4 separate regions of the Homo sapiens genome follow, and all the other regions are linked to region 3. Evidence: promoter capture Hi-C in human tissues and cell types (Jung and others, 2019). All regions are on one chromosome and are shown on one strand. Each heading gives the region's core, a stretch centred on a gene start or on the middle of the fragment in contact. The rest is flanking DNA. Distances are from core to core; before and after follow the strand shown. Region 1 overlaps DCDC1 (doublecortin domain containing 1). Region 2 overlaps DCDC1 (doublecortin domain containing 1). Region 3 holds the start of PAX6 (paired box 6). Region 4 overlaps DCDC1 (doublecortin domain containing 1).

The links. Contacts are between HindIII fragments. The study calls those that stand out against the background at their distance.
Region 1: a fragment that was not itself captured here is called in contact with the fragment with the promoter of PAX6 in region 3 in 2 of the 25 tissues and cell types used here (mesendoderm cells and thymus).
Region 2: a fragment that was not itself captured here is called in contact with the fragment with the promoter of PAX6 in region 3 in 1 of the 25 tissues and cell types used here (lymphoblastoid cells).
Region 4: a contact is called between a fragment that was not itself captured here and the fragment with the promoter of PAX6 in region 3, in 1 of the 25 tissues and cell types used here (heart left ventricle).

The regions. Positions count from the first base shown.
Region 1 is chr11:31,102,803-31,108,409 of GRCh38, forward strand. It overlaps DCDC1 (doublecortin domain containing 1), which reads right to left. Exons shown (of 39, transcript NM_001387274.1): 13 at 3,995-4,158; 14 at 842-967. Among named protein-coding and RNA genes, the nearest start is that of DCDC1, 260 kb to the right of the region's middle. RefSeq lists a silencer at 4,288-4,467. The HindIII fragment of the contact is 6,555 bases long and covers 949-5,607 here.
Region 2 is chr11:31,089,140-31,094,096 of GRCh38, forward strand. It overlaps DCDC1 (doublecortin domain containing 1), which reads right to left. Exons shown (of 39, transcript NM_001387274.1): 16 at 4,911-4,957; 17 at 2,254-2,372. Among named protein-coding and RNA genes, the nearest start is that of DCDC1, 280 kb to the right of the region's middle. The HindIII fragment of the contact is 4,949 bases long and covers 1-3,815 here.
Region 3 is chr11:31,810,072-31,815,228 of GRCh38, forward strand. It overlaps PAX6 (paired box 6), which reads right to left and starts at 1,251. Exons shown (of 14, transcript NM_001368894.2): 1 at 1,044-1,251; 2 at 757-944. RefSeq lists enhancers at 817-1,386, 1,089-1,146, 2,494-3,462, a promoter at 1,034-1,443 and a silencer at 4,306-4,560. The HindIII fragment of the contact is 12,830 bases long and covers 1-5,157 here.
Region 4 is chr11:31,223,342-31,228,478 of GRCh38, forward strand. The region is part of intron 9 of DCDC1 (doublecortin domain containing 1); the gene reads right to left. Among named protein-coding and RNA genes, the nearest start is that of DCDC1, 140 kb to the right of the region's middle. The HindIII fragment of the contact is 4,220 bases long and covers 244-4,463 here.

The DNA of each region.
Region 1 (5,607 bases), core at 2,976-5,475, 700 kb before region 3:
CTCAGTAGTCACAAAGTGTGTGTCCATCATCACAGAAAGTTTTATTGGACGGCACTAAATAGTGATTAAGCACTCAGGTACTTAAGACAAATGATCTGGGTTAGAATCCTGGCTCTACCATGTACCAGCTGTGTGACTTTGGACAAATTACTTCTCTCTTTGTGCCTTGGTTTCTGTCTCTGAGAAATGGAGTAAGAGTAGAGTAATATGGAATAATAGGAGTAACGTAATTGTTGTGAGAATTAAATCGATCCTTACCCAGTTAATTTGTAACTGTGCCTGGCCTATGGTCAACACTCAGTAAAAGCCAGTTTGTATTATTTGCAGATAAGAAACCAACACCAATCTGCTCCTGGACAATCACGAGCAGAGACGAAGCAAAATGCCTCCTTAGATCTTCCAACTCCTACTCTTCACTGCCCCAACGAGTCCCCAGAACATTGCTTTTGTTTTAAATGTATCATCATCAGATAAGAAGTTTAAATGTGAACACTCACACAGAACATATTTTATATTTTAATGATTCCATTATAAATGATTAATTTAGAAATAACCACTAAAAACAGCTTTTATGTTTCAAACCAAATTGTTGTTTCTGCAAAGCAGAAACTATACTTCGCTCATGGCCCCATATGGTTTTCTAAAACTAAGGAAAGTTAACAAGTCTTTTAGGCACTACCTCATTATACCATTAAATAAGTCAATAAAAGAAACAATTGCTTATTTAAGACAACTGAAAGAGCATCTTTTAGTGTTTCGAATCTCTTACTCTGAAAAATCCTGAATTAAGTGATTTGGATTACTTTAACCACATCTTTAACAAGATTACTTGTTAATTTACTTGCCACATCCAGGTAGCAGAACAGCATTAGGATCCAAAAAGGTCTTATATGCAACCATGATATCACCTCTGGCAAATGCACTCACTCGGTCAAAGGTCAAACCCAAAGCAAGATTTAGTGGAGATCTGAAAAACGGATAAAACATCAAAACTATCTTCAAAATTAGACATACATTGTAATTTGAGCACAAATAAACAATAAAATACACATTATCATTGTCTAATAAAATTCAGAAATAAGTGAGTTTCCTATTGTATAGCACTATTGCTGGTATTCTATATTAACACCTGAAATATATACTTCAGTTTATTTAGCTGATCTATAATATGCCAAAATAGTTTCAACATATGTAATTTAAAAAATAATAATTGCAATAATTAAAGCCAAGTATTTAGTTGAGAAAAACAATCGTCATTCACATAATGTTCATTTTCCATGTATAACAGTAATCCAATACATCTATAGTAATCTTGGGAGCTGATAATTAAATGAATTCTTAATATTTGGCCACGAACAACTATTTCTGTGAGCTCACTAAATGCCATGCTGATTTGATTTTCATATTACATATTGTTAGGCACACTGTTTTAAGTGAATTTGGAAATTAAAATCAAAAACAGATTTTAAATGAAAACAATGGCCACTATTGTACACTATGAGCCATTTTTCTCTAAATTGCTTAAGACTCGCTATTTATCTCTAGAATTAAAAATCAACGACATCACCTCTGCAGTCTTGTTGCCAAAAATATTTAAACTGAATCTAATCATGAGAAAACACTCAGACAAACCCAGAATGTGGGACATTCTACAAGAAAAATGCCTGGACTCTTGAAAAATAAATTAATGTCATGAAAAACAAAACAAAAGATTAAAAGAATATTCTAGATTAAAGACAACTAAAGAAAATAACTAATATAATACAAGGAAGTATATTTGGATACTGGATTACAAAAAGCTCTAAAGCATATTTTGGTTAGCTTGAATATAGAGTGTATATTAGAGGATATTACATTACTGTTGACTGTGTTAGATATTATAATGTGGTGACACATAACTCTTCTTCAGTTATGTGACCTGAAGCATTTAGGAGTGAAATTTTAATGTCTGGAATTGCTTTCAAGCCGTTCAAGAGGGAGAGAGAGATGGGAGATATATAACAGGTAAAACAAATGTGGCAAACTCTTTAAATTGGTGAATCTAGGTGAAAGATATACAGGAGCTCATTGTACTATTTTTTCAAATTTCCTTAGATTTAAATTTTTTCAAAATAAAAAATTGAAGGAAAAATAAAATATTCAAAATAGAAGCGGACATCGGCAAAAATCATCTTTTACAAATGAGTAGCTTGACCCCTTCAAATCAACATAAATTAGACTCAGTAGAATTACTTACTGAAAATGAAAACGATTTACTTAACACGTATTGCACATTTTCTCAACATATTTCAAACTAGACGGCAATAACTTTTTAGACATATACATTTTAAACATTCCTATGGTAGCAAAATGCTGTAATGGTTTCCTGGTGCTTTATGTTGGACTGGAAACCAAAAAAATACATTAAACTGTTAAAATCACAATGAAATACAAATAAATATATGCACTGGTAAATTTCTCCGACTACAATTCTCAGCTGATTTTTAGAATATCTCAGATTTTTGGCATTTTACCAGTTATTCCGCAAATATGATCCAATTAGCCAAAAACAAATGTTTAATATTATTAAAATGCTGTATTATAGCAAACATCATTAAACGTATCAAAATTAGTGAGTCATTACTTTCACTTTGACAATAATATTAAAAAGAAATAATAATGACACATTTTATTAAAGCCTATCCTTGTAATAGGAAGGGCTTACTAGATTACTCAAGAATTCTTGCCACTTTAAAATTCATCAGTTTTTATCATTGAAAAAACAATTCTACTTACAACGTAATTAAATTATATTTTGAAATTTATCTATGGACAAAAACTTACCATTCCTTAGAGATTTTTTAATTCTCTAAATTACACAGCCTAAGAAATCATCAAGCATTTTAATATTTCATCTGGGACAGATGAAATAAAATTTTGTAACATGTGATCCACAACTTATTCTAGCAACATCTTCCAAAACCTTGATGGATTTCTGAGTACATTTGTTTCAGTATTCGAAATTTTAACTATTTGAATATATAGCAAATCCAATAGCCCTTGCTTTGCTAAGATTTAGGTTTATTTATGCTATTTTCATTATAGTTAATATATGATCAGTTATACTCTATATGAAAAATTATTTTCCCTTATTCTGTTCTACAGATAATAAGCTAAAAAAATTAAAAATAGAGAAGTGTGTTTAAGTTTCCTGACAAGCAGTTTCAGAGTTCATCTGGATGTGTTCTGTCAAAATATGCATAAATTTCCTAGATATTGAAAACAACAGCCCAGCTCATCAGTGCCTATATACTGCAGCCTTTTTCTTTCTTCAGAAACACAGATAATTTTATGCAGGAATTTACCAATCTACAAAAATTTACACAATGCTCAGCAATAACCAGTAATTATTGTGGGATAATGTAAGGTGCTTTTGAGGAATATAACTTTGATAGGATAGGGCTTACAAGCTTTACCAATTTATCTTTAGCTGTCCTGTCATTGGTGCTTAAAAGGTTAAGACTTTATTTGTGAAAACATAGAGAGATAGTGGGGAATCATGTTGTCTACAGCTTCATAAATCTTGCTTAAGATCCTTTTCAATTACCATCCATTTCTCCTTTAAAAAGGGACAAAAAAAATAGAGGAGTGGAAGCAGGTCAGGGCAGTGTGCGACAATGACAGTGTGATGGGCTTGGGCCCCCCGTGGCGTTTCCATCTGCTATCATTAAGGTGACTACTCAGACATGAACAAATCCCTCTTGCTGTGCTGACAGGCAGACTTCAAGAACTATGACAAGGCATTAAGACAGAAAGTCACAGACAGAGATAGAGAGAGAGAAGGAGATGTCATATTCCACCAACAATACTGCCTTGCAAAAACACCTCTAAAATTTTATTGGAATTCAAAATAAAAAATGTTTCATGAAGGGTGCTACTTGACTTCTCAAATCCGCTTTCAAATTAGCTCTCCCCTGGAAAGATTGAGGACAGAAAACAAACCCCTTGCTCCTACCTGTATGCTCTACCATAAGAGACCCAAATTTTTTGCTCATTCTTCAGCGAAAGTGGATTCTTAATTTCTTGGCCATTCTCATCAAAAAGCCGCATTGAAGAATAATTGAGGCCTGGTGGGTTGATGGAAGAACCTTGAAGCCTTTGATGAATCTTGAGAAGTAACTGGTTGGGGGTTAGAGGGGCAGAGGGGATAGAGGAGAATAAATAACCTAAAATGGGAACATCTGTAATAAACTGTCTCTACTCTGTAACAAATGAAGTCCAAACAAATGATAATTAAATTCATATAGAATGTTAAAAGAAGTGTGAAATGACGGCAATGTTTAGCTCAGTGTAAAGTAACAAAATGAGCATGGGCTTTTAACCAGCAGGGGGGGCCACAGGCTTGTGATTGAGCTCTGACCCTTTGGCACGGGGACTGAAAGCAGATGTGACAGTCTTACAGAAAGAGCATTTAGCTTCTACACATGGTAACGGTCCTCTTTGATAAGGGTTACGCTTTTCTTGTCTGAGCTACACATTTTGTTAGGGGCCTTCCAGACCACGTTCAAGTTTCACAATCACCAATCTCCCTGTCCCCAGCAAATCTCAGGTAACCAGTAGTAGGACAACTGCCAAAATTAAAATGACTTTTAGCCTAAGTTGGTTCACTTACAAAGATCTCTCCCTAGAAGCATTTTAATTATGAACCCTGAAATAGCTTGTGGACATCTTCAATAATGAATGTTTTTAAGTTGTAAGAAAGACATCATGGAAGTGTGAAGTATGAAAAGCTGTCATTTAATATTTAAGATAATAGCATTATCAGTGTTTGCTTCTATCTTGCATTTAGAGTCTCTAAATTATCAAGATATTTCTAATTTAGGGCATATTTCAAATATAAAGTAAATCTAACAGAACTGTGCTGCATATGGTATTTGAAAAGACATTTTTCATTATCCTCTGTCACCTTTGTTTAAGTGTTTCAGCCTTTGCTCTTCCTTGCTCTGCACTCCACCCTATCCATCACTCTTCCCCCAGCCTTCTGTCACGGGGTTCCTTTTCATCTCTCCCTTGTCAGTTCTTGTGTCTCTCGGTTTCTTGTTATCCTGTAATCCCTGCAGGGATGTAGATATAGCTGTGGTCTTTTCTGGCCTAACTGCAGTTCAGGGTCCTTTCTTTTCTTTTCTTTTTTGCTCCTCTATTAATCCCCATTGAGGGTATATTGAGAAGTGCTAAATGCTGAGGCTTAGAGGAAAGAAGGGAAAGTCACAGGTCTTCCATGCATCTCAGGTGTCTCACGATTGGCTGTAAACTCTTGACTGAGCAAATATTTCTTTTGACCAGAAACTGCATGTATAGGATCTAAGTATTAGGCTTTGTCCTACTTAGAGATACGTAATAGTATCTCCAACTTAGTGTTTTCATTAGCTGAAGATTTTTAGTCTTGAGCATTGGAAAGGCATTAATACTTCCCATCCAGCATAGCCAATTCCTTTGAATTAAAAATGATCATTACTCTCCTCTTTAGGTGTATAAGAGGCAAAGGTGTTAGAATAGTAAAAATCTATATTGCCTTGGTTATTTTTCCATGGAAATGGCAAACATATTTTGAAATCTATAGATTGTATT
Region 2 (4,957 bases), core at 91-2,590, 720 kb before region 3:
GTGAATATCTTAAGGTCTTTATATTGCCTTAATTTTTGAAAGACATTTTCACTGGGGAAAGTTTTCTATATTAACGGGTTCCTCCCCACCTCCTCTTTTAGTATTTTAAAGATGTTTTTCCACTGTCTTCTTACTTCCATTGTTACCAACAAGAAATCTGCTGTCAGCCTTATTTTAGCTCCTCTTGTACATAATACGCCTGTTCTCTCTGCTTTTAAGATTTTCTCTTTATCACTAATTTTAAACAATTCTATGATAATGTGCCTTGGTTTTGTCTCTTCATGCTTCTTGTGCTTGGAATTTGTTGAGTTCCTTGGATCAGTGGGTTATAGCTCTCAATTTTGCACATAGAAATTGTTCAGACACTATTTCCTCCAATATTTTTCTTTTCCTTGCTTTAACCTGTCAGAGACTATAAATACTCAGAAATTGGGCCATATGAAATTTTCTCACATCTCACTGATGCTCCGTTCTTTTTTTTTTTTTTGAAGTATTTGTTTTCTCTCCGGTTTTCCTTGTGAATAGTTTTGTTATCTTCTCAAGTTCACTGCTATTTTCTTCCACATTGTCTAATCTGGCATTAGACATGTTTAGTATACTTTGTCTCATATATTGTAGTTTTAATCTCTTGAAATTTGAGTTCTTTTATATCTTCCATGTATTTAGTTAACATGTTCAATCTTTCCTCTAGCTTCTTGAATATACAGAATACAGTTAAAACAGCTGCTTTAATGTCCCATCCAGTAATTCTATCATCTGTGTCATTTTTGGGTCAGTTACAATTGATTGATTTTTCTCTTTAGTATAACTGTGGACTAAATGAGCTGAAGCATCTCTGGCTCCCTGTTCCATAGTTTCGCATTGGCATTGGCATTGGCATTGCAAGTTCATGCTCAATGTGAGTCTAGTTTACAGAACTCATTTTGCTTCAGAAATCTTATTACCCAGTCTGCGTACAGTTCCATACCAAACTGAGACTTGCTTTAGGGTTGTCTGCCACTACTTAGGAACTATGTATTTAGGACTCTATTAGCACTGGAGAGTTTGCATAACACCAAGCTAACATCTTCCTTTCCCATCTGCCTGATTTTTTCAAGTGATGTACCCTGCTCATCCACTAAGGTATCTGCTACCACACTTGGCGCTCACTGGCAATTGTCTGACTGGACTTTAACTGACTGACAGTGTAGTGTTGTGGCTAAGTGTCTACTTTCAGGTTATAGGGCCTGACTGCTTGGGTTTGCCTTCCTGCCAAACCACTTAGTAGGTATGGCCTTGAGCAGGTGATTAACTTCTCTGTACCTCAATATCCTCACCTGTAAAGATAATAATGATACCTACCCTATCAGATTGTTGTAAGGATAAAATTTGACAATGAGATTTAAGGACATTAGAATAGTATCTGGCTTAGACACTTTGTTGTTAGAGTAAGCAGTGCAGACTGGATCTATACCTGGGAATTTGAGTCTGTAGATCACATTCTTAATCATTACATGATATCCTTATATCTGCTTTGCAAGTTAGAGAAAACTTCCCTTCTGTATTTATGGCTGGATCAACTTCTCTGATGATTGCAGCCTAAGCATATCCTAAGTGCCTATATAGCCAGAAGTAGTTGGTAATGGCTTTTTAAGTCCTGAGGTATGATAGAAATTGTTTTTTTCAACACTAAGTGAAAACAAACATCAAAACAAAAGACCAAGAAAAAAGAAAGTGACTAGAAAACAATATTTTGAGACTCTTGGAGATAAATCAACTTTCTTCCTCAATCTGCTTTCCTTTATTATATCTTCCTAAATCAGAAAAAAACAAATAAGAAGGACACTTACAGTCCGTTACAAGCCAGCATTTTTTGGTCTCTGTGATTATTCTTTCACAGTTCAATGTTTTGTATTCAGAAGATGGAAAAAGGTTATGAATATACACAAAAATTTAAGTTTGTTAATTAACAATCAAAATGGATATAAAGAAATGAGTTCTGATAATTATAGAGTAAAGCAGCAGTTTGTCTACGACATAGATACATGTTGAAGGCCAACATTTCACCTTTTAAATATCTTTAAAACACTACCAAACTAAGTGGCATACATTTTCAAGCTTACTTTGGATTCAGAAATTAATATTGTTATTATGAACACAAATTTAAACATTGAATGAATATTCAATCCAAACCAGGAGGCATCACAATTGAACTGCTCAGAATTCTTGAAATTAGCATTTATTATCTTGAGCTAAATAATTTATAAGCATTACCTTTTCTGTAAGATTAATTTATATCCTTCTAGTGATGTTCCCTCAGCAGCCTTGACTCTGATAGGATGACCAATAGCCAGGCAGCCCTGAGTTATCGCTCGGCTCAGGATCATTCCAGTCTTCCAATGAATAGAGAGGGGGAGAAAGGTCTAAATAAGTTAAAAGAACCAGAAAATTCAACAATGTGTCACAAATAGTGAGGTCATTATGCCTGGATAACCCTGGATATTAACAGTTGCTGAAAGTGAAACACTACCCACAACTTAGCAGTCAGCGAGCCCTGCTCAGAATCAGTAATCTTCTGTCCAACAAGGGTGGCATTTTACAGTTCAGTGCGAAATAAAACAGACCTTGATATCTTCATTTGTCTTTTTTTTTCTGTGCATATTTCACAGTGCAGCAATTTGGGGTCCATCACGTGTCACTTGCTGTAGTTATAACTACAGAGCTTACCGGAAATATGTATGCACAGAAAAAAAATAGTGCAGTGAACTGAAAAGACTGAAACAAATCCTTAACCTTTGTATCAATTTAAAGTTTTACTCTGGGTCTAAATATCATGGGTTAAACATTTTAAGGTGGTTTGTGAACTGCTTTTATTTTAAATGTTAGGATTTTCTGCCAAGGAAATTAAAGGGGAATATTGCTTGAAGGGCCATTTAACCATTTTCTTACTTAGTGAGTCAACACAACATTTTTTATAAGTGACAACCATAGAGAAATTTGTCTACATCTACTGGAGATTTATGGCACGTAAAATTCTCTCTTAATAGGTAAAAAGATGTATTTTTAAAACAGGAAGAGAGAGTTCAATCTTAAAGGATTTTCAGAATTGTTTCCTTTTTAGCATATACTTTATTTCTCATGTGTTTGCAGTGTGGAAAAGAAACATGATGATGACTGATGACTTACGAAAAATATTTCTAAAAAAAATTGGTTTTAGTAAGTACTGAATGAAATCCTTGTTTGATCATGCTTGTCTATACAGAAAAAAGAACTGCTTAGGGTGAGGAAAGGCAGCCATCATTTATTAAGCACTTTCTGTATACCAGACACCATGCTTGAACATCACATATGCTTTCTCATTTCATCTTCACAGCAACTGTGCAAAGCAGATAAGACTAACATCATTTATAGAAGAGAAAACAGTAGTTCAATGCAGCTAAGTAACTTTCCCAATGTCACACAAGAGATTTCAATTATTTAATAACTCCAAAACTATACTCTTTTGGTAGGCATTCCAATTATTTTTGAGGAGATTTTAGACAAGTACATGTTTTCTGCTATCATGAAATTCTAGAAACAGATACCATGAAATGAAAGAATATGGGATCTGAGAATGGACCTTCCATAGCAACTGGTCCAACTCTTTTTGATAGAACACCAAGGCCTAGATACCATGTGTGACTTGTCTGCTGTCATATAGTTATTCAGTGGCAGTGCTGGGACTAAAACACTTCCATTATGCTCACAGGTGAGTCAAATATAGAGGAGTGTTTTATATCACAATGAAAGTTCTGAAGTCAAAGAGACCAAGAATCTTTCTTCTGCTATTACTAACCTCAGTTTCTTCAGCTGTATAATAAAAATCTGCACAGTTCTTGTAACATTAAATGAAATAATGAATGTGAATAAAGTACCTAATGTAATGTCTGACATACAGTATTCAACTAAGTGGAGATGTTATTATTATTAAATCAGAAACAAAATACCATGTAAAAAGGGCAAATAGTTAACATAGACTCCAGCTGGAAATCCAGATTTCAGGAAAAGCTCATGTAAACTTACTATGCTGTGATATATGAAATAAATAATATGTCTTAGTACCTTTGTGTCTTAATTATTCTATATGTTTGTTTTTAACTTTTAAAGAACAATAGCTAAGGGCAATCCAAAATTTCATTTGCGAAAATAGTGTCAATCTTCCCTCCTCCCAGCAAACTTCATTGGGTGACTTCGCATTCACAGGAGTGCTAAGTAGTAGCAAAATCATCTGTGATGACGGGACAAAGGGAGATACAGGAAAGATAATTGTGAACTGCATCATCTCTTTTCAACATAAATACATATTTACAAAATGTACTGCAGTAGTAAGATGAAAGGAAAGGACAATTTTATGTTCTTCTATAAGTCATATACAATAGTACAATAATAAAGTGAAAAATATTAAATATTACCAACACACAGGAACAAAATGTGTTAGGCACTGCTCATGTTTATACTCAGGGATTTCTTTTAAAACTACGTCCTTGCTAAGACAATATGCAAAGTTGGTATATGTTGGTAATCTACCAGGCTCAGGAAAGCTGAGGGGTAAAACTCAAAATGAAGATCTAGGAGTAGAAGCACATTCAGACAAATCTCATGAAAATGATGAGTCTGTGGACTACAAACAAATTCTATGCTTGGTTTAAATACACTGTGAGGTATAAACTAATCAGCAGCATGTCTGATAGTGAACTGAATGCTCATTTGAGAATCTACAGAAGTCCCGTGGGCTAGGCAATACCAACGGCAGAGATGGCATCTATAACAGCCAACAATTTATCACGCTTTCACTTGTATGCCCATGTGCATGAGAGCACCAGGTGCCAGCAAGTGCCGTGAGCCAGCAAGCAAGGGGAGGTCACTCAGCAAAAGCAGACACTCTTAGGTACCTTGGTGATCAGCCACACACTGGCTACAGGCCACAGGATCGATGGCG
Region 3 (5,157 bases), core at 1-2,500:
CCGCTCGGCTCTGAGCTCCCTCGGAGCGCGCGTTCCACCGCCTTGGCCTGGTGGCTTCCTTCCCGGCTCGCGCTAGCTCGCTCTTCCCTCTACCTCCAGCGTGCGGCTGCCTTGCCGACTGACTCCACTCGGGCTGGTGGCGGGCGCGGTGCCCCCCTCGGCGCTCGAGTGCCGGCTGACTCTTCTGCGCCGGAGCCCAGTGCGGCACAAAGCCCGAGGGCCGGCGGGCGGGCGGAGACGCGGCGAGCAGGTTCCCTCGGCGCTCCCTCGGCGAGTCCTCGGAGCGCCCGCTCTCTGCGCGTTCGCTGGGCCTCGGGCTGGACAAAGCAGCCGGCAGCGGTTGCTCTCTGCGGCCGTTCCAGGGCCTTGGGCACCACAGAGCCTCTTCGTCTTTTCCCGCGGGTCGGGAGCATTGGGCGACGCTGGGGCTAGGAGCCGCGGCTGCTGTCGCGCCTGGAGTCTCCCTTCTTCCCGCGAGCTCAGCCCGCGCTGGCGCTGGCGCTGGCGCTGGGGCTGAGCTGGCCGCCCGCCCCGAGCCCTGCGCCGCTCCCGCTCGCCGGCAGTCGCCCTCCGACGCGGGCTTTCGCTGGAAGTAGAAAGTTTGGGCTCCTGCGTGGAAACTTCTCCGGCCCAACTCTCCCGGCGTAGCAGTGGGGGAGGGGACCGGCGAGAGGGGAGGAAGGAAGGGGGGAGGAAGGGGGAGACCTGTCTGAATATTGCAATAAAAATAAAGCGAGAAGAAAGAAGCGGACTCACCTTTATGAGGCATCCTTTCTGGTTGTCACAGCTTCTGTCAAGAGTTTTGTTTGGTTGGGGTTTTTTGTGCTGCTGTTGTTGCTTGAAGACCACAATGGTTTGAAATGACGGTGTTTTAAAGGAGTTGCTGGTGAGAGTTTTCTCCACGGATGTTGCTGGGTTGGTGTGTGAGAGCAATTCTCAGATTCCTGGGAAGGAGACAGAGATTGACAATAAAATGGGCTGTCAGCGGCTGGAGAGTGAGAGATAAAGAGTGTGGGTGAGGGAAGTGGCTGCAGCCAGCACACCTATGCTGATTGGTGATGGCTCAAGTGTGTTAATGTGTGTGTGCCGGCGCCCGGCCTCGCCTCCACCGCTCCTCACTGGCCCATTAGCGAAGCCTGACCTCTGTCATCATCCTCCAGCAAAACACTTCCTCCTGCGCCTGAACCAGAGCGGGAAATGAGGCCGAGCCACGGTTCCCTTTTCAAACCCACTAATCACTCCGCAACATGCAAATGCACCGCTCGCTCTCACACAAAATATTGCTTTATGCAAAGCAGCGCCGGGGCCTCGCGCCAGCCGATTGGATGCTCCCTCTCCCCGCCTGGTGCAATTGGTCCGTTTGTTTGAATATGAATACACTTGTTTTCGGCTCCGCCGGTGGGTCCCGGCTCCTCTCCCCGGCGCAGGGCCCCCGAGCCCGGGCTCTGGCGCTCGCCTGCATCTCCCCGCTCCGCGCACGCCGAGATTCGGCGCGGCCCGCCCTGCTGCCGCGAACTTGAGCGGTCAAGTGAAGGTTTCTGGGTTGGGGGTCGCGCCCCCACTCCCCCTAAGCTGGACTCGGGACTCCCAGTCCTCGGAGGGTGCAAGTTTCTGTGCTGTCCTTTCTTGCCAACTCCAGGACAGCGTGGCCTGCCGCCCCGCCCCCGCCCGCCCCCACCCCATCCCAGCCGGGGCCCCAAGACACAGAGCACAGCGGCGGCCGCACCCCAGCCCACCTGGCCCCTTGGAAGAAGAGGAAAGGGGCGGGAGCGTCACTGGGTCCTGGCAGCTCCATTCCAGCTGCGGAGGCCGCGGCGAAGCCTAGGCCGAGAGGAGGTTGCCGGGCCGAGAACTAAACGAGGCCAGAGGCCTCCCCAGCCCAAGCCTCCAGGGCCTGTCCAAATCCTCCACCCCGCTCTCCCCGCCCTTTCTTCTCTCCTTTCTCCTTTCGGAAGCCGCGGTGCGCAGCGGAGCAGAGGCACAGCTCTGGCTGGAGAGGCCCGAGTAAACACGCCACTTACTTTGTGTACAGAGGGTTCTTGTGAAAAGCCCTGAAGAGTCCTCACCAAACACTCACCAACTTCTCCCACGTGCCATTTGTTGACTAAGTGCGGCTGCTTTTCGCAGCGCCCGAGAGGAGGGGAAGCCAGGGGAGATAAGAGGGGAGGGGGAGTGGAAGCCTGGGTGGGGGGGCGGATGACCAATGCTGGGAGGGATTCTCTCTCTCTCTCTGTGTGTGTGTGTGTGTGTGTGTGTGTGTGTGTGTGTGTCCCACTGGCGATGTCGGTATGTCAGCGTGTGTCGTGTGTGCCACCGGTCATCTGTGTGTGGTGCGTGTGTCTCCGCACCACGACTCCCTCTCCTGGGTCTGCTCAGTCCACGGAGGCAGCTCCCCTTCAGCTGTTGCCAGAAAACCGGGGAGGAAAGTAAGTAAATGGCTTTTCTCTTCTGACCACACACCAGAAGTCCATTTGTTGAATGCCGCACGATTAGGACACACCTCAGTACACTCCAAAGGCGCCCCTCGGAGCCTGCAGTTAAGGTGACAGGAGAGCGAGCGGCTGCCTGGTCCTGCGCTGTCCCGAGCTCTCTCGGCGGCTTCGGGCCACGGAGCCGGGAAGGAGAAGGAAGGCCTGGGCTGCTGTACACACCCCAGGACAGGGCGAGGGGGAATAGGGCTGAAGAGCTGAGGCAGGGAGGCTGAAATGAAGCAGCCGAAGGGTACGCTAGACTCTTCTTGACTTAGGGAAAGTGCTGAAAGTCAGAGCTCATCAATAAAATCTGCGCGACCTGAACTCGCTGCTGACTGGCCGCGTCGCCGCAGCCCCTGGCAGCCGGGACAGTGAGGACGCTGCAAGCCGCCCTGGGCCGCCGGGCCACATGTGGGCCTCACCCTCTCGTTCCTGCCTGGGACCCAGCAGCCCTGCGACCAAGGAGCCCGGGCAGGGCTCCCGGGAAGCAAAGGCCTCCCCGGCCCTAGCCAGAGGTGGGGTCGCATAACCCTCTCCCCTCCCCGGGCTGGGGAGGGCTGCCGGCTCTAACCCTTCCCCGGGAGCTCGCAGCGCCGGGAGGAAACCTGGGTCAGAGGTGAAGGAGGTGGCGCCGGGTGTCCAGGTCCGCGGCCTCCTGGGCGAGGTTTCATTTCGCAGGAGCGCGACTTTCGGAGGATGCCGGCAAGTGGGGCCGCGGCCCTGAGTCCCAGACCAGCGAAAGTCGGCTTTCTCTTTCTCTCTCCTTTTACTTTCCAAGCGAGCATTAAAGAAGCTTGGACTCAAGACTCAAGTCCGCTGTGCATGAGCGAGGGACTTGCGGGGGGGCGGGGGGGGGGGAAGTGATTCTGTCCGAACTGGAGGCGAGTATCATTTTTACAACCTCTCAATTAGCGACCGAGTGGATTAGCACCTTCTTAAGCTTTGCCTCGGAAAGAAGCAGCCGTAATCTTGTTGCTATTTCCCCCCAGGGCACTGGCTCTTTGAATCAGCTCCTTCTCCCACCCCTCCAACCCCCATCTCGCTGCGGAGAAAAGTTTTAACAAAAAATCAGAAAAGGCAAGGAGCGAGGAGTGAATGCCACTGACGTCATTGGGTGGGGAAGGGGGCTCCGGGAAAGACTCCTGGAAACTCCTCCGCACAAACAAAAAACAAAAAGGACTTGGCTGCTTCCCATGTGTCAATATTTGGGGAGGGGAGTTCAACCCCAGAATGAGGCCGAGTTTTCAAAGTTTAAGGAGAGAGGGGTGAGAGTGAGATTTCCTCGTTCTCTCTGGACTGGTCTCAAGGAAGGTGGGGGTGCTGTTCTACCTCGTGGGGAGCCTCACTCCCTCTGCCAAGTACCGGCTCTGGGGGCGAAGCGGCCTAGGGGTGTGGGGGCCGAGACTGAGGTGCGGGCGCGGTTGCCAGAGGTGTGTACAAAACCGAGACAACTCGCAGGTCGCCATTTTAATTGCGGCTACCAACACGCCCGAGGCCCACTTGCTGCCCTCCAAGACGCGGGGGGGCGGCGGGGATTGCGCTTTAGGTTCTGTCTCCTTTCCCCGCCTCCCCACAGGCCCCTGTTCCCCCCTACCCTCCGCCCCCTGTGGCCAGAGGGAGGACCTCTCAGGCCGGCGGGTGCGTTCCCGCGGGGGCCGCCGGGGTCGTCCCACCCGGTAGCGGGGCTGTCTGCGTGGAGGGAGTCCCGCTGGGGGACCGTGGCTCGCCAGAGCCTGCCCAGAGCTTCTAGCCAGTATTGATGCGTCAACATGAGGTGAGGCAAGCATCTCACCCGCACCGATCCCTGGCATTCCCCTGTGCCCACCCCATCAGGCCTTCGGGGAGGCAAAGAAGTGCCCACTTCTGGGGGGAAGTGCCTCCAGCTCCCAGCTTCAGAACCAAGAGCCTCCCATCCGGAGTTCTGACAGTTCTGACACCTCCAAACTCTCTCTTTCCCCGGTCAAGCAGAGGCGCAGCGCCGGCGCGCTGGAAAGGGTGAAGACTGGCATTTTTTGGAGAAGGAAAGTCTTGGCAGACACCTGCGTCACTTTGTAGTGCCCCAAACGTCTCTCTTTTTGCAGACCCTGGGAAGGTGGGATCCCTTGTCCGCGGAGCTGGCAAACGGGTCCAGTGAGCCCTAAAGGCAAAGGCTCCCATCCCGGCCGCCCAGTCCCTGGTGCCTCCCCCACTTCCAGGCCTTTGTCCCTCTCCTTTCTCCAGCAACCTGCCGGTTCCCGCTAACCCGGCAGCCTCGCCGAGCCCAGAGCCTAGAAAAGCCAAGAAGATCCCAGAGCCGCCCCGTGGCACCTTCAGGCTGTGGCCACTGCTCGGCTTGGGGGGAAGCCGCGGTGCCCTCGCCCTTCCTCGCCTCCTGCCAAATGGCCAGTGCTAGGGGCTCCCTGGGTTCAGTCCTCAGTCCTCTTCCGTTCGCTCTGGGAGGCCAGCCTGTCTCTCTCTCTCTCTCTCTCTCTCTCTCTCTCTCTCTCTTTCTCTCTCTGTCTTCTCCCTGCCCACCCCCAAAATACCTTTAAAATAACATTGTCCAGTGGAGTCTCCCAGCAAAGGGATTCCTAGCAGCCCAGCGGGTCAGACTCCCAAGGCTTTGCCTCCCAGTCCCTCCATGCTGTTGTCCAGATAGGAGTTAGGTTTAAAACTCCTGACATGTAGGACAACTGAAATCAGCGGC
Region 4 (5,137 bases), core at 1,104-3,603, 590 kb before region 3:
ATGTATGCATATGTGGGAAAATGAGGAGAAATGAGAATCTTATAAATTGCTGGTGAAAGTGTTAACTAATACAATAGCCATATAATGTAAACAGACAATAGCCCACAATGATATGCATACTGCATACTTTTTTCATACTAATTTTACTTCTAGATATATACCCTGGAGAAATTTTAATACATGCACGTGAGTTTTACATAAAGTACACAAATATTTGTAGGAGCATTGTTTGTTACAGTAAAATTTGGAAAGACACTAAATGTCTGTCAACAAGTAATAAGTAGACTGTAGTATGTTCATACAATAAAATGAATAAATTACTGTGTGGAAGTTAAAAGTCAATGCATAACATCTTTATATTTCAGCATAAATATGTCTCATAAATATAATGTTGCAAGTGCAGAGTGACATGTATAGTATATCATTTATATAAAGTACAAAAAAGGCAAAACACATATATATGTAATATATACATATAAATATGAACGTATATGCTTTAATATACACATATGCATATATACATATGATTGGTTTGGCTGTGTCCCCACCAAATCTCAACTTGAATTGTATCTCCAAGATACAATCCCACATGTTGTGGGAAGGACCTAGGGTAGGGGGAGGTCATTGAATCATGGGGGCCGGTCTTTCCCATGCTAGTCTCATGATAGTGAATAAGTCTCATGAGATCTGATGGGTTTATCAGGGGTTTCTGCTTTTGCTTCTTCCTCATTGTCTCTTGCTGCCACCATGTAAGAAGTGCCTTTAGCCTTCCTTCATGATTCTGAGGCCTCCCCAGACATGTGAAACTGTAAGTTCAATTAAAACTCTTTTTCTTCCCAGTCTCAGGTATGTCTTTATCAGCAGCACAAAAACAGACTAATACAACATATATGTAAATATATACATATACATATATATATAAGGACATCCTGGTCAATAAATGGTGCTGGGATAACTAGCAAGCCACATGTAGAAGAGTAAAACTGGGTCCACATCTCCCACCTTATACAAAACTCAACTCAAGATGGATCAACGATCAAAATCTATGACCTGAAACCATAAAAATTCTAGAAGATAACATCAGAAAAACTCTTCTAGACATTGATATGGGCAAAGAATTCATGACTAAGAACCCAAAAGCAAATGCAAAAATAAATAAATAAATAGGATCTAATTAAACTAAAAAGCTTCTACACAGCAAAAGAAACTATCAGCAGAGTAAACAGACAACCCACAGAGTAGGAGAAAATATTTGCAAACTATGCAGCAGACAAAAAACTAATATCCAGAATCTACATGGAACTCAAACAAATCAGCAAGAAAAACACAAATAATCCCATCAAAGGGTGGGAAAAGGACATAAATAGACAATTCTCAAAGGAAGATATACAAACAGCCAGCAAACATATGAAGAAAATGCTCAACATCAGTAATTATCAGGGAAATGCAAATTAGAACCACAATGAGACACCACCTTACTCCTGCAAGAATGGCCATAATTTAAAAATCAAAAAATAATAGATGTTAGCATGGATGTGGCAAAAAGAGATGTACCACTCTGCTGGTGGTAATGTAAACTAGTACAATGACTATGGAAAACAGTATGGAGATTTCTTAAAGAACTGAAAGTATAAAACTACCATTTTATCCAGCAATCCCACTACTAGGAATCTACCAAAAAGGAAAAGAAGTCACTACGTGAAAAAGACACATGCACATGCATGCTTATAGCAGCACAAGTCACAATTGCAAAAATATGGAACAAGCCTAAATGCCCATCAATCAACAAGTGGCTAAAGAAAATGTGGCATATATACATCATGGAATACTACTCAGCCATAAAATGGAATGAAATAATGGCCTTTGCAGCAACTTGAATGGAGCTGGAGGTCATTATTCTAAGTGAAGTAACTCAGGAACATACAATATCCAGAAAACTAAATATTTTACATTCCCACTTATAAGTGGGAGCTAAGCTATGAGGAGGCAAAGGCATAACAATGATATAATGGACTTTGGGGACATGGGGGAAAGTTGGGGGGGAGTGAAGGTTAAAAGACTACATATTGGGTACAGCATAAACTGCTCAGGTGACAGGTGCATCAAAATCTCAGAAATCACCACTCAAGAACTTATCCATGTAACCAAAAGCTACCTTTTCCCCAAAAAACTATTAAAATAAAATAAAAGAATAACAATATATACATATAAATATGTAAATATGTGTTATATATACATATGCATACATGCTAATATGTACATATACATATATGTAATATATATAATATAAAATATGACTGGAGATTCAGATAATGGTTACCTCTAGAGAGGAAGCACAGGGAAGAAAAATTATATATATATATCTAGGTAGATATATATCTATATCTACCTAGATACATATAGATATAGATATGCTTTATTTCCTGAAAAAAAAATCTGAAGAAAGGATTTGATCGAGTTGGATTTGGCTTACAGAAATGTTTACCCAATCTTTCGTGTCTGGAGTATTTCATTATTTTGAAATAAGGAAAACAAAGAAGTACATTCCTATTCCATATAGGAGAACAGGAAACACAGAGCTAGGAAGGAGTATGGTATGGTTATTGAACAGTGATAATATTAGCTTGACTTAAGAACAGATTCTAGTATTAAGGAATGAAGAGAAATAAATATGAACTGATAGGAGAATCTTGATGATGTAATACTTAAGGAACCACGCTGAGGAATGTAAGAGGAAAGATAGTATTTGTATTTGGAATATAATTTTCTCTTATATTTGGAATTTTGAAACTATAATGACTTAATTCCAGGCAAGCTGCTGTATCTGCAGCTTTCTTCTCTAATGGCTTCTTGCAGAACTGAAGGTGACTCATGTCCTAGTTCAGCCTGGTGGCTATCACAGAAACAAACCAAAATAAAGTACCCAGAAAAAAGGACTGGAAAAAAAATAAAATAAAATAAATGGCAAACTAATATTGTGTAACTAGAGTCCAGAAAAATAAGAAAGAGGGTTAGGAATAGAAAAAGTATTTTAAGACATAAAGGCCAAAAATATAACAAAAATTAGAGCCACACATATCCAAAAAATTCAACAAACTGTAAGAAGGTAAACCCCCGAATAAAAACACAAAAGACACTTCATGATCAAACTGCCAAAAAAAAAAGTGATCAATATAAATTCTTAAAAGCAATAAAAGAAAAAGTCATTACATAAAGATGTACTAAGGTAAGAATACTATCCAATGTTACATCAGAAACTTGTGATGAATAGAACAACATCTTTAAAGTCTGGGGAAGAAAATCTACTGACTTATTCCAAACTCAATGAGAAGGAAGGAAGATCTCAAAAAAGCAAGATCTCATCTCTAAAAAAAAAAAAAAAAGAAAGTTTTAACAAAAGACATTAAAAGAAGTTCTTCAGGCAAAAGGAAGACAACCTAAGAGGACGCTTGGATTTATTAAGGAATAAAGACTATCAAAACCCATAAGTATGTGGGTGAAGAAAAAGACATTTTTTCTCATTTTTAAATCTCTTTTAAAATTTTCTGTTTATATAGGAATACAAGATTTTCTGGGGAAAATAACAGATAAAAATAAAATAGACGACAACAGTGGCACAAAGAATAGGAAGGATAAATAAAAACATATGTTTCTTACATTATAATGAATAAGTATTATTCAAAGATGGAGTATAAAAAGCTAAATATATAAACAAAACATCCTAGAGCAACTACACATACACTCATGCATACAAAGCAAGCCAAAAAGATATAGCTAATAAGCTTATGGTAGCTGTGTTAGGCCATTTTTGCATTGCTATAAAGGAATGACAGAGGTTGGATAGTATATAAAGAAAAGAGGTTTTATTGGCTCACAGTTCTGTAGACTGTACAAGCATGGCTCCAGCATCTGCCTCTGGTGAGGGCCTTTGGAAGCTCATAATCATGGTAGAAAGTGAAGGAAGAGTCAACACATCAAATGGTAAGAGGAGGAGCAAGAGAGAAGGGGGAAGTTCCAGGCTTTTTTAAACAACCAGGTCTCACGTGAACCAACTGAGCAAGGGGATGGTGCTAAACCATTCAGGAGGGATTTACCCCCATGATCTAATCACCTTCCACCAGGCCCCACTTCCAACAGTGGGAATCACATTTCAACATGACACTTGGGGGGAAAAAAATACTAACTATTTCAGTAGCAATGAAGTGACCACAAAGAAACTTATTTTATCCAAAATAAAGCAGTTTAAAAAGATAAAATGATAAACAAATGAGACAAATAAAACACAAATGACAAGATAAAATAATTAAACCCAGTCATATTAATAATTATATTAAATGTAAATGGTCTAAACATCCCAATTAAAAGAAATTTTCAGAATGGAGAAAATAGCAAGGCCCAAAATATTATTTCTACAAGACAGAATATAAAGATATAGGTAAGTTAAAATTAAAGGATAGAAAAGTAAAAGGACATTATTTTATAATAACATTTGTGAAAAGAAAATTGGAGTAGCTTTATTAAAATAAAACAAAATGGACTTCAGAACAAAGAATATTACCAGGAATAAAGAGGAACATTTCATAAGGATTTTTAAGTTAATTTATCAATAAAATATAGCAATCTTAAAATAATACAAACCCAATAACAGCACTTCAAAATATATTTAGAAAACATTGTTAGAACTGAAAGGAGGAATAGACAAATCCAAAGTTACAACAAGAATAACAGAAGATGTGAAAAACTCTATCAACTAGCTTGAACAAACTGACATTGAAGAACACTCAAATCAATAAGACAGAACAAACATGGAACATTAATTTGGATATATTTTGAGCCATAAAGTAAATCTCAAAAATTTTCAAAGGATTAAAATTATACATAGTATGTTATCTGACCACAATGGAAACTAGAAACCAATTACAGAAAGATATACAGAAACCCAAAAATAATGGCAAATTAAACAACATATTTCTAAATAACAGATGTGAAAATCACAAGAAAAACTTTAAAGTCTTTTGAATTAAAGAAAAATGAAAACAGCGTACTGAAATTTGTTAGGCATAGCAAAAGCAGGGCTTTGAGGGAAATTTATAGCATTAAATGCTTACAATAGAAAAGTAGAAAGGTCTAAATCAAT